Linked DNA regions of Homo sapiens: region 2 is linked to region 1. Evidence: promoter capture Hi-C in human tissues and cell types (Jung and others, 2019). All regions are on one chromosome and are shown on one strand. Each heading gives the region's core, a stretch centred on a gene start or on the middle of the fragment in contact. The rest is flanking DNA. Distances are from core to core; before and after follow the strand shown. Region 1 holds the start of MTA1 (metastasis associated 1). Region 2 overlaps BRF1 (BRF1 general transcription factor IIIB subunit).

The links. Contacts are between HindIII fragments. The study calls those that stand out against the background at their distance.
Region 2: a fragment that was not itself captured here is called in contact with the fragment with the promoter of MTA1 in region 1 in 3 of the 25 tissues and cell types used here (H1 embryonic stem cells, mesendoderm cells and pancreas).

What each region holds. Positions count from the first base shown.
Region 1 is chr14:105,417,454-105,421,992 of GRCh38, forward strand. It overlaps MTA1 (metastasis associated 1), which reads left to right and starts at 2,374. Exons shown (of 21, transcript NM_004689.4): 1 at 2,374-2,610. The coding sequence starts at 2,583. It overlaps MTA1-DT (MTA1 divergent transcript), which reads right to left and starts at 2,286. Exons shown (of 2, transcript NR_125385.1): 1 at 1,569-2,286; 2 at 128-856. RefSeq lists enhancers at 571-1,240, 3,919-4,539 and silencers at 1,938-2,037, 2,068-2,117, 2,208-2,467. The HindIII fragment of the contact is 32,458 bases long and covers 1-4,539 here.
Region 2 is chr14:105,274,574-105,279,112 of GRCh38, forward strand. All of the region lies in intron 2 of BRF1 (BRF1 general transcription factor IIIB subunit), which reads right to left. Among named protein-coding and RNA genes, the nearest start is that of BRF1, 24 kb to the right of the region's middle. RefSeq lists an enhancer at 1-530. The HindIII fragment of the contact is 6,963 bases long and covers 1-4,539 here.

The DNA.
Region 1 (4,539 bases), core at 1,124-3,623:
CAGTGGCATGATCTCGGCTCACTGCAAGCTCCGCTTCCTGGGTTCACGCCATTCTTCTGCCTCAGCCTCCGGAGTAGCTGGGACTACAGGCGCCCGCCACCACGCCCAGCTAATTTTTTCTATTTTTAGTAGAGACGGGGTTTCACCGTGTTAGCCAGGATGGTCTCGACCTCCTGCTCGTGATCCTCCCGCCTCAGCCTCCCAAAGTGCTGGGATTACAGGCGTGAGCCACCGCACCCAGCTGGATTCTTCTTAATTCTTTGTTTTTATTGTTTGACTCACCTGAGGTCTTTGGACTTTGCCTCTGAGCTGGCTTAAGGGCAATCCACCTTGTTCACTGGTCTGGAGTGGGGAGGCAGAGTATGGGTCGGCTGGAGGAGTGGGGCTCTGTGCTCTCTTTTGAGAGTTTACTAAACGTCACTCTGCATGGTGAGGGGTGTGTCCTCTCCGCTGGGGAGGCCTGGCTTGAATTTCAGATTGCCTCCCTGGGACACCAGACCCTGTGCTGTGCTCCCTCAGAAGGACAGCCTTGACTGTCTCCACTCCAGCAGTCAGTTCTCTCCACTCCCACTGGGAGAAGGAGCAAAGGCTGGTGTCTTCAGGAGGCTCCTCTCCAGGCTGGGGCCAGGGAAGAGTGTGCATGTCACTGTCAGGATGTGTCCCAGTGGTGTGGCTGGGTTCTCAGGGTGAAGCTCGTCCATTTCTGGGATGGCAGCGGAAGCAGGCACTACACACGCAGCTTCAGGGGGCTCTCCCCATGCTTCCTAGCTGCCTGGCACTTTCTGGTGTTTCTGGCTAACTTTCTGGCCATGCCAGGAGTTGGTGGAAGGAGATCTCAGGCTGCAGCTTTGCTTTCCTGCTGAGGAGACAGAGGTAGGCTGGGGCTGTAGGACAGGGGAGGCCAGCAGCCCCACCTTCCTTCTGGAGAGACGCTGCCTGTCTGTCATTGCCCCTCTCCTGCACCTGGCCGCTGGCTGGCTGCTCTTCCCTCCCAATCACCAGCAAGCCAGCTCCTGTTCCCTGCAGCCCAGCCCGCAGGATGTGTCCTGGGACCCATAGCCCTCTCTCCCCAGAGACAGCACCGCCCTGCAGCTCGGGTTCCTGGCCCTGTGCTAACCCTGGTGGGGCTTTCCTTACTGGTCTGCTCTGCAGCCATGACATTGTGGCCACCGCTCTCCTTGGGACCCCCACCTGGCTTTCCTCCCAGCACATGCTGTTTCCTACCCACCTGGATGGTGTCCTGTGTGCTGGATTCCCCATGCTGTGTCCCCAGCATCCTGACCATGTCTGTCCCGCCTGCCTAGATCTTGCACCGTGGCCACGGGGCTCCCTCCTGATAGCCCTGAACGCTCCGCTCCATGTCCTACAGAGAGGGATGTCCCAAGTAGATGTCAGCTCCCTCCAGCATCTGAGCAGGCAGGACAGAGACCCACGGTGCTGCTCACATCAGCAGCCTGGAACCCCGAGACAGCTCCTTTTGCTCACCTCCCCCAACACTGATGTTGCACCTGTCTCCAAGCCACTCTGGGACCATCTGTTTCTCTCCATCTGGGAAGCCCCCTTCGCACCTCATGCTCTTCCTGGCTGGGGCGTCTGGGTCACTCACTGGACTCTCCTCTCCTTAGACCTGTGCACAAGCACACACGGGAAGGCATCCTGACAGGTGGTGGGAAGAGAAGGCAGCTGCCTCACTGCGGAAAGAGCACGGCCGCTCCTGGACTCCAGCCCTGTTGGGGCTGGCGGGGTCAGCAGGCGCTGGGTTCCAGCCTCAGGTGGGGTCTTTGGAGGTGGCCTCTGGGCACAGGCACCTCCTCTGCGGCCTTCTCACCAGGTCACGGTTCAGGGAGGCTTTGCCGGCTACGGAGCCTGCCCACACCAAGGCGCGCACGACCACCTGTCCAGAGATGCCACGCGGGCTGGGCGGCGAAGGCCAAGGACACGCCCTGCCTGGTGTCGGGGGCAAAGGTTAGGCCTGGAAGGGAGGTGTGGGGTGGGGACCCCGAGGCCAGGGCTGGGCCGCTGAGCTTCAGGGCCCTTGGGGGGCTCAGGGAGGAATGCCGGAGGACCCCAGCATCAGGAGGAACCCCTGGAGAGCTACGGCAGGACTCACCTGTGGGGCACAGGGAGGGATCACCAGGGAAATGGCCCTTGTGGAGGATCTCCCCTCTACCCCCAGGGCACCAGGGGAGGATCTACCAGGGGGTTCTGGTGGAAGGGCCCACCCGGGAAGCGGCGCGCGGGGAGGACTCGGGGGCGCCGAGAGGAACTGTCCGGGAAGGGGCGCGCGGGCCGCGGGCGGCGCGGGGTCGGTAACGGCCCGTGCGGTGGGCGGCGGCGCCCGAGGCCCCTCCCCGCCGCCCGCGGCCGCTCCTCCTCTTCCTCTCCCGCCCGCGCCGCGGCCCTCCCGTCCCTGCGCGGCCTCGGCGGCCTCGGCGGCGGCGGCGGCGGCGGCGGCGGCAGCAGCGCGGCCCCTTTAAACGCCTGCGGCGCCCCCCGCCCCCGCCATCGCGCCTCCATTTTCCCGGCCGCCCGCGCCGAGCGCCGCGCCCGCCCCGGGCCCCTCCGCCGCCGCCGGCCCGGACATGGCCGCCAACATGTACAGGGTCGGAGGTAAGGCCGCACCGCCTTTATGCCCGGCCCCGACCCGCCCGCAGCCCCCACCCGCCGCCGCTGCCGCCTCCCCCGCCCCTCTGCCCCGCAGGCCCCGCGCCCCCCGCCCGCCCTCGCGGCCCCCGGCTCCTTCCCGAACCGCCCCCCGCCGTGCTCACCCCAACCCAAAATGGCCCCGCGGGTCGGCCCCATCGGGGGCGGGCGGGGCTCGGCGGCCCGGGGGTGGGGGGCGGCCCACCTGTTGGGGCCGAGGGGGCGGCCGCGGGGGTGGCGGGGGGGCGCGGGGCCTGCGGGACATCCGGGGGTCCGGGGCCGGGAGCCCCCAGCGGGAGCACGTGGCCTTGGGAGGCGCCGGCTGCCGGTCTGGGAGCAGGAGTTTTGGGGCTGTGGGGTCTCCCCCGGCCCGCGGCCCTGTGCTGGGACTCCGGTGCATCCCCTCTGGGGATGGGGAGCCCCGGTGAGGGGCCACGTTCCTCCCTAGAGCCCTCCTGCAGCCTGGCCCCGGGGCTTCCCCCAGCAGGGATCCCTCAGGGGGTCTTCAGCAGGGAGCGAGCATCCCGAGCACGCCTCTAAGTCCCCCCAAACTTTTCCCTGCCTCTCGCTCACCTCAGCCCATTCGGGAGGCGCTTTGCAAGGGTTGGGGAGAGGCCGGAGGGCCTCCTGGGCAGGGGCTTCCTCCGTGGGCCCAGCCTCCTGTTGCTCGGGCCCCCCGGGCCTGCAGCTTTGAGCCTTGCCCTCCTTCGTGTGCCTGGGACTCCGTGGGGTCTTTCACAGGAAGGTGGGGGGTCGTGTGCATTCCATCATTCCATCAGCGCCTCCCTCCCCAGGACTCTGAGACCCCTCCCTGCCTGTGACCCTCTCGGGCAGGTGCTCATTACCTTTCCCACCTGCAGCCTGCGCTGCTGGAGGGAGCTGGGGTCACTCCCGCTCTGGCTTGATCCCCATGCCCCTGACCCCGAGTGCCCAGAACACTCTGTGTCTCTCGAGCGTGGCTTCTGCTGCCTTGGACGCCGTGTGGTCTGGCCGGCCAGTCCTGTGACCTTGGGGACGGTGGGAGCCCCCTACATCCCGTCTGTGAGATGGGCGGTCAGTCCGCATCAGCAGCTCTGGGCCTCCCCTGTCCTCTCAGAGGGGCGGTGGGCCTGTACCCCATCCAGCGGCAGCCCCTCCCACAGCCTCATACAGCTTTGCCAGGTCCCTGTGTGGACCCAGGTGCGCTGAGCCCACCCCACGCTCAGGGAGCAGCCTGGGTGCGGGGTCCCTCGAGGGAGGGGCCTGTTCCTTCCTGTTCTTTCTCCCCACCTGGAGACCCCCCTTCCAGCCTGACATGAGGGCCCAGTTTCTCACCCTGGCAGAGAGGATGCCTGCTGCCTGGGCTCCAGCCGGGCCCACTGCGCATGGTTTTGGGATTGGTCCCAAGAAGAGCTCTCCCTGCCCCCACCCATGTTGGGGGTGGGGAGTGGTGGCAGCTTTGGGCTCTAGGGCTGGGGACACCCCGACCCCAACTCATGCCTTCCTAGTGGCTGCATTGCTCGGCCTTCAGGCCTGCCTGCCTGTGATCTTGGCGCCAGCCTGGCTGCCCCCCCTCCAACCTTCCCATGCCTCGGTTTCCCCATGGTGTGGGTGAGGACCTCGTCTCTCAGCCGTCCTTTTGTGCCCTGTGGCAGCTGTGCTGTGGCTGATGAAAGCCAGGACCCTGCCTTGTCCCATCCCGGAGGTGCAGCTCCCCTGGGCCCCACACAGGCTTGGGAGGAGCCCTTCGTGGGGCTGCGCCGCCCTCCCCGAACCCTCTGTCCCCCTGTGCCCGCAGGCCCGTCCCAGGGCCTCACTGACCCACGCACTCCAGTGCTGTGAGGGTGGGTGGCCTGGACTCCTAGGCTGTGGCGGAGGGGCCCCACCATGCCTGGCAGAGATGCTGCTGGTCTCTTT
Region 2 (4,539 bases), core at 1,197-3,696, 140 kb before region 1:
GCCTCCCTGGAGCAAGACCCTCCCAAAGCTGCGGGCCACATGATGGCATCAGGAGGGAAATGGCAAAGCTGCCCTGCAGGCAGGAGGAACCTTGGGAAACAAATGTCAATGCAGAGTACAGGCCAACCTCACTGCCCCACTCTGTCTGCAGAGCACAGGCTGTGTGGGGAGCACCTGGGCCAACCTCACTGCCCCCACTTCTGTCTGCAGAGCACAGGCTGTGTGGGGAGCACCTGAGCCAACTTTACTGCCCCCACTTCTGTCTGCACAGTGGGCGTCGTGGGCAGGCAGAGTCCTTGCTCCAGGCAATTAGCCCCATGGGGTACCCAGAGGACATGTGTGGTGGGTCACGGCTCGATGCAGAGGAATGCTGCCGCCATGGAGATTCCAGTTCCCACTGCATCCTCTGGCACCCAAACCCACAGTCCTCCTGCAAAGACTACCTGAGGCGGCCTCCATCCCCATATAAAGTCAAAAACTGACCTCCCAGATTTATTTGATAAGGGCACATGAGCTGGAGAAAGTGAGGGCTGATGTTTTGCTCACGCCAAACTTCACTAATGATGACCAGCAGCCAGAGGTGGGCAGCTGCTGAGCCTGCATCCCAAGGAAGCCGGTGGCCAGGGTACACAGTCTGGCAGGTCCAGGTCAAGCCTCACACTGCCAGGCCCCTGGCAGTCAGCAGCATCACATGGAGCCCCCAGCCCGGCTGTGGCCCTGCCACCTTGAGCACCTAAGGCCACCTGCCTAGAGCTCATACAGCTCTGAGGCCTGCAGTCCAGCTGAGCTGACGTGGAAGGCTGGTCACTGTCCCCAGAGCTGAGGCCTGGGCCAAGCCAAGACCCCAAAAGAATGGACAGAAAGGGCATCGTGCCAGCTGCCACCTGCACATGTGCAGCACCAGCCAGACACACCAGCACAGACCGTCCCCGCGGCCCAGCAAGGCCCAGAGGGAAACAGAGTCAGCTGACAGGGGACCCGCTGAAGCTACGGCTCCTTACCTACCAGCTCTCTGCTGTATGTTTGAAAATTCTGTAATAAAAGGTAAGAGAGAGGTACTCTCTGAGGCCACACACTTGAGGCTGGGACTCGATCCCAAGCCCCGACCCCACAGGCACCAGCTCGTGTTCCCAGCATGCAGGGCTGCTATGGTCAGAATGTCTGACTCCTAAAATTCCTATGTTGAAATCCTATCCCCTACGGGGATGGTATTAAGATGCAGGGCCTTTGCGGGAGACTAGGTCAGGAGGCAGAGCACTAATGATGAGCTCAGTGCCCTTAAAAACCGGACCCCAGAGAACTAGCCCAGCTCTTCTACCACGTGAGGCCACAGTGAGAAGGAGCTGAGAGGCGGCCCTCACTAGAGAGCTGGGGAGGAGGCCACAGTGAGAAGGAGCTGAGAGGGGGCCCTCACTAGAGAGCTGGGGAGGAGGCCACAGTGAGAAGGAGCTGAGAGGCGGCCCTCACTAGAGAGCTGGGGAGGAGGCCACAGTGAGAAGGAGCTGAGAGGGGGCCCTCACTAGAGAGCTGGGGAGGAGGCCACAGTGAGAAGGAGCCGAGAGGCGGCCCTCACTAGAGAGCTGGGGAGGAGGCCACAGTGAGAAGGAGCCGAGAGGCGGCCCTCACTAGAGAGCTGGGGAGGAGGCCACAGTGAGAAGGAGCCGAGAGGGGGCCCTCACTAGAGAGCTGGGGAGGAGGCCACAGTGAGAAGGAGCCGAGAGGCGGCCCTCACTAGAGAGCTGGGGAGGAGGCCACAGTGAGAAGGAGCCGAGAGGCGGCCCTCACTAGAGAGCTGGGGAGGAGGCCACAGTGAGAAGGAGCTGAGAGGGGGCCCTCACTAGAGAGCTGGGGAGGAGGCCACAGTGAGAAGGAGCCGAGAGGCGGCCCTCACTAGAGAGCTGGGGAGGAGGCCACAGTGAGAAGGAGCCGAGAGGGGGCCCTCACTAGAGAGCTGGGGAGGAGGCCACAGTGAGAAGGAGCCGAGAGGCGGCCCTCACTAGAGAGCTGGGGAGGAGGCCACAGTGAGAAGGAGCCGAGAGGGGGCCCTCACTAGAGAGCTGGGGAGGAGGCCACAGTGAGAAGGAGCTGAGAGGCGGCCCTCACTAGAGAGCTGGGGAGGAGGCCACAGTGAGAAGGAGCCGAGAGGCGGCCCTCACTAGAGAGCTGGGGAGGAGGCCACAGTGAGAAGGAGCTGAGAGGCGGCCCTCACTAGAGAGCTGGGGAGGAGGCCACAGTGAGAAGGAGCCGAGAGGCGGCCCTCACTAGAGAGCTGGGGAGGAGGCCACAGTGAGAAGGAGCCGAGAGGCGGCCCTCACTAGAGAGCTGGGGAGGAGGCCACAGTGAGAAGGAGCCGAGAGGGGGCCCTCACTAGGGAGCTGGGGAGGAGGCCACAGTGAGAAGGAGCTGAGAGGGGGCCCTCACTAGAGAGCTGGGGAGGAGGCCACAGTGAGAAGGAGCCGAGAGGCGGCCCTCACTAGAGAGCTGGGGAGGAGGCCACAGTGAGAAGGAGCCGAGAGGCGGCCCTCACTAGAGAGCTGGGGAGGAGGCCACAGTGAGAAGGAGCCGAGAGGGGGCCCTCACTAGGGAGCTGGGGAGGAGGCCACAGTGAGAAGGAGCTGAGAGGGGGCCCTCACTAGAGAGCTGGGGAGGAGGCCACAGTGAGAAGGAGCTGAGAGGGGGCCCTCACTAGAGAGCTGGGGAGGAGGCCACAGTGAGAAGGAGCCGAGAGGCGGCCCTCACTAGAGAGCTGGGGAGGAGGCCACAGTGAGAAGGAGCTGAGAGGGGGCCCTCACTAGAGAGCTGGGGAGGAGGCCACAGTGAGAAGGAGCCGAGAGGCGGCCCTCACTAGAGAGCTGGGGAGGAGGCCACAGTGAGAAGGAGCTGAGAGGGGGCCCTCACTAGAGAGCTGGGGAGGAGGCCACAGTGAGAAGGAGCTGAGAGGCGGCCCTCACTAGAGAGCTGGGGAGGAGGCCACAGTGAGAAGGAGCTGAGAGGCGGCCCTCACTAGAGAGCTGGGGAGGAGGCAACTGTCTCCCCCATCTCCAGCTCAAACTTTCCAGCTCCAAAAGTGTGAGAAACACATTCCTGCTGTTTTGCCTTTCTGGTCTATGGTGTTCTGTTACAGCAGCCCAAAAGGACTAAAATGGGGGCTTATGATGACTGCAGTAAGTTATTTTTTACCATCTTCTTTCTCTTTTTTGAGATGGAGTCTCGCTCTGTCACCCAGGCTAGAGTGCAGTGGTGCGATCTCAGCTCACTGCAACCTCTGCTTCCCGGGTTCAAGTGATTCTCCTGCCTCAGCCTCTTGAGTAGCTGGGACTACAGGCACATGCCACTGCACCCAGCTAATTTTTTGTATTTTTAGTACAGACAGGGTTTCACACTGTTGGCCAGGATGGTCTCGAACTCCTGACCTTGTGATCCACCCATCTCCGCCTCCCAAAGTGCTGGGATACAAGCATGAGCCACTGTGCCTGGCCAAATATGTTATTAATAAACAGATATTCACATAGAAACCAACTACTAATTAGCTAGCCATAGCCTGCGAGTCTCCTTAGACTTCCTTCCAACAAATGAATTCTAAAAGTAAACTCAGGCTGTGTGCCGTGGCTCATGCCTGTAGTAATCCCAGCACTTCGGGAGGCTGAAGCAGGTAGATCACTTGAGCCCAGAAGTTCAAGACCAGCCTGGGCAACATAGTGAGATCCAACTGCTAAAATAATCAGCCAGGTGTGGTGGTGCAAGCCTGTAGGCCCAGCCAAGGTAGGAGGACTGCTTGAGCTTGGAAGGTTGAGGCTGCAGTGAGCCATGATCCTGCCACTGCAGTCCAGCCTGGGCAGCAAGAGAGCGAGACCCTGTCTCCAAAAAAAAAAAAAAAGATTTGAGGCATATCACCACTTACATGTAAAGTATAAAGCAATAAAGCTTCCAGAGGAAAACACAAGAGTATCTTCAGACCTTGGAGTAGATAAGAATTTCTTGAACAAGTCACAAACAGCCCTAACCATAAAAACTGATATACTGGGACTTCATTATAATTAAGAAATTTCTGGCAGGGTGCAGTGGCTCACACCTGTCATCCCAGCACTTTGGGAGGCTGAGGTGGGAGGATCACTGGAGCCCAGGAGTTGAAGACCAACCTGGCCAACATGGTGAGACCCCCATCTCTATTTAAAAAAAAAAAAGAATTGGCCGTGCGCAGTGGCTCATGCCGGTAATCCCAACACTTTGGGAGGCCGAGGCGGGCAGATCACGAGGTCAAGAGATCGAGACCATCCTGACCAACATGGTGAAACCCCGTCTCTACTAAAAAGTACAAATATTAGCCGGGCATGGTGGTGCACACCTGTAATCCCAGCTACTCGGGAGGCTAAGGCAGGAGAATCGCTTGCACCCATGAGGCAGAGGCTGCAGTGAGCCGAGATCGCGCCACTGCACTCCAGTCTGGCAAAAGAGTGAGACTCCATGTCAAAGAAAAAAATTAAAAATGAGTGGATGTGGTGGCATGTACACGTGATCCCAACTACTCGGGAGGCTGAA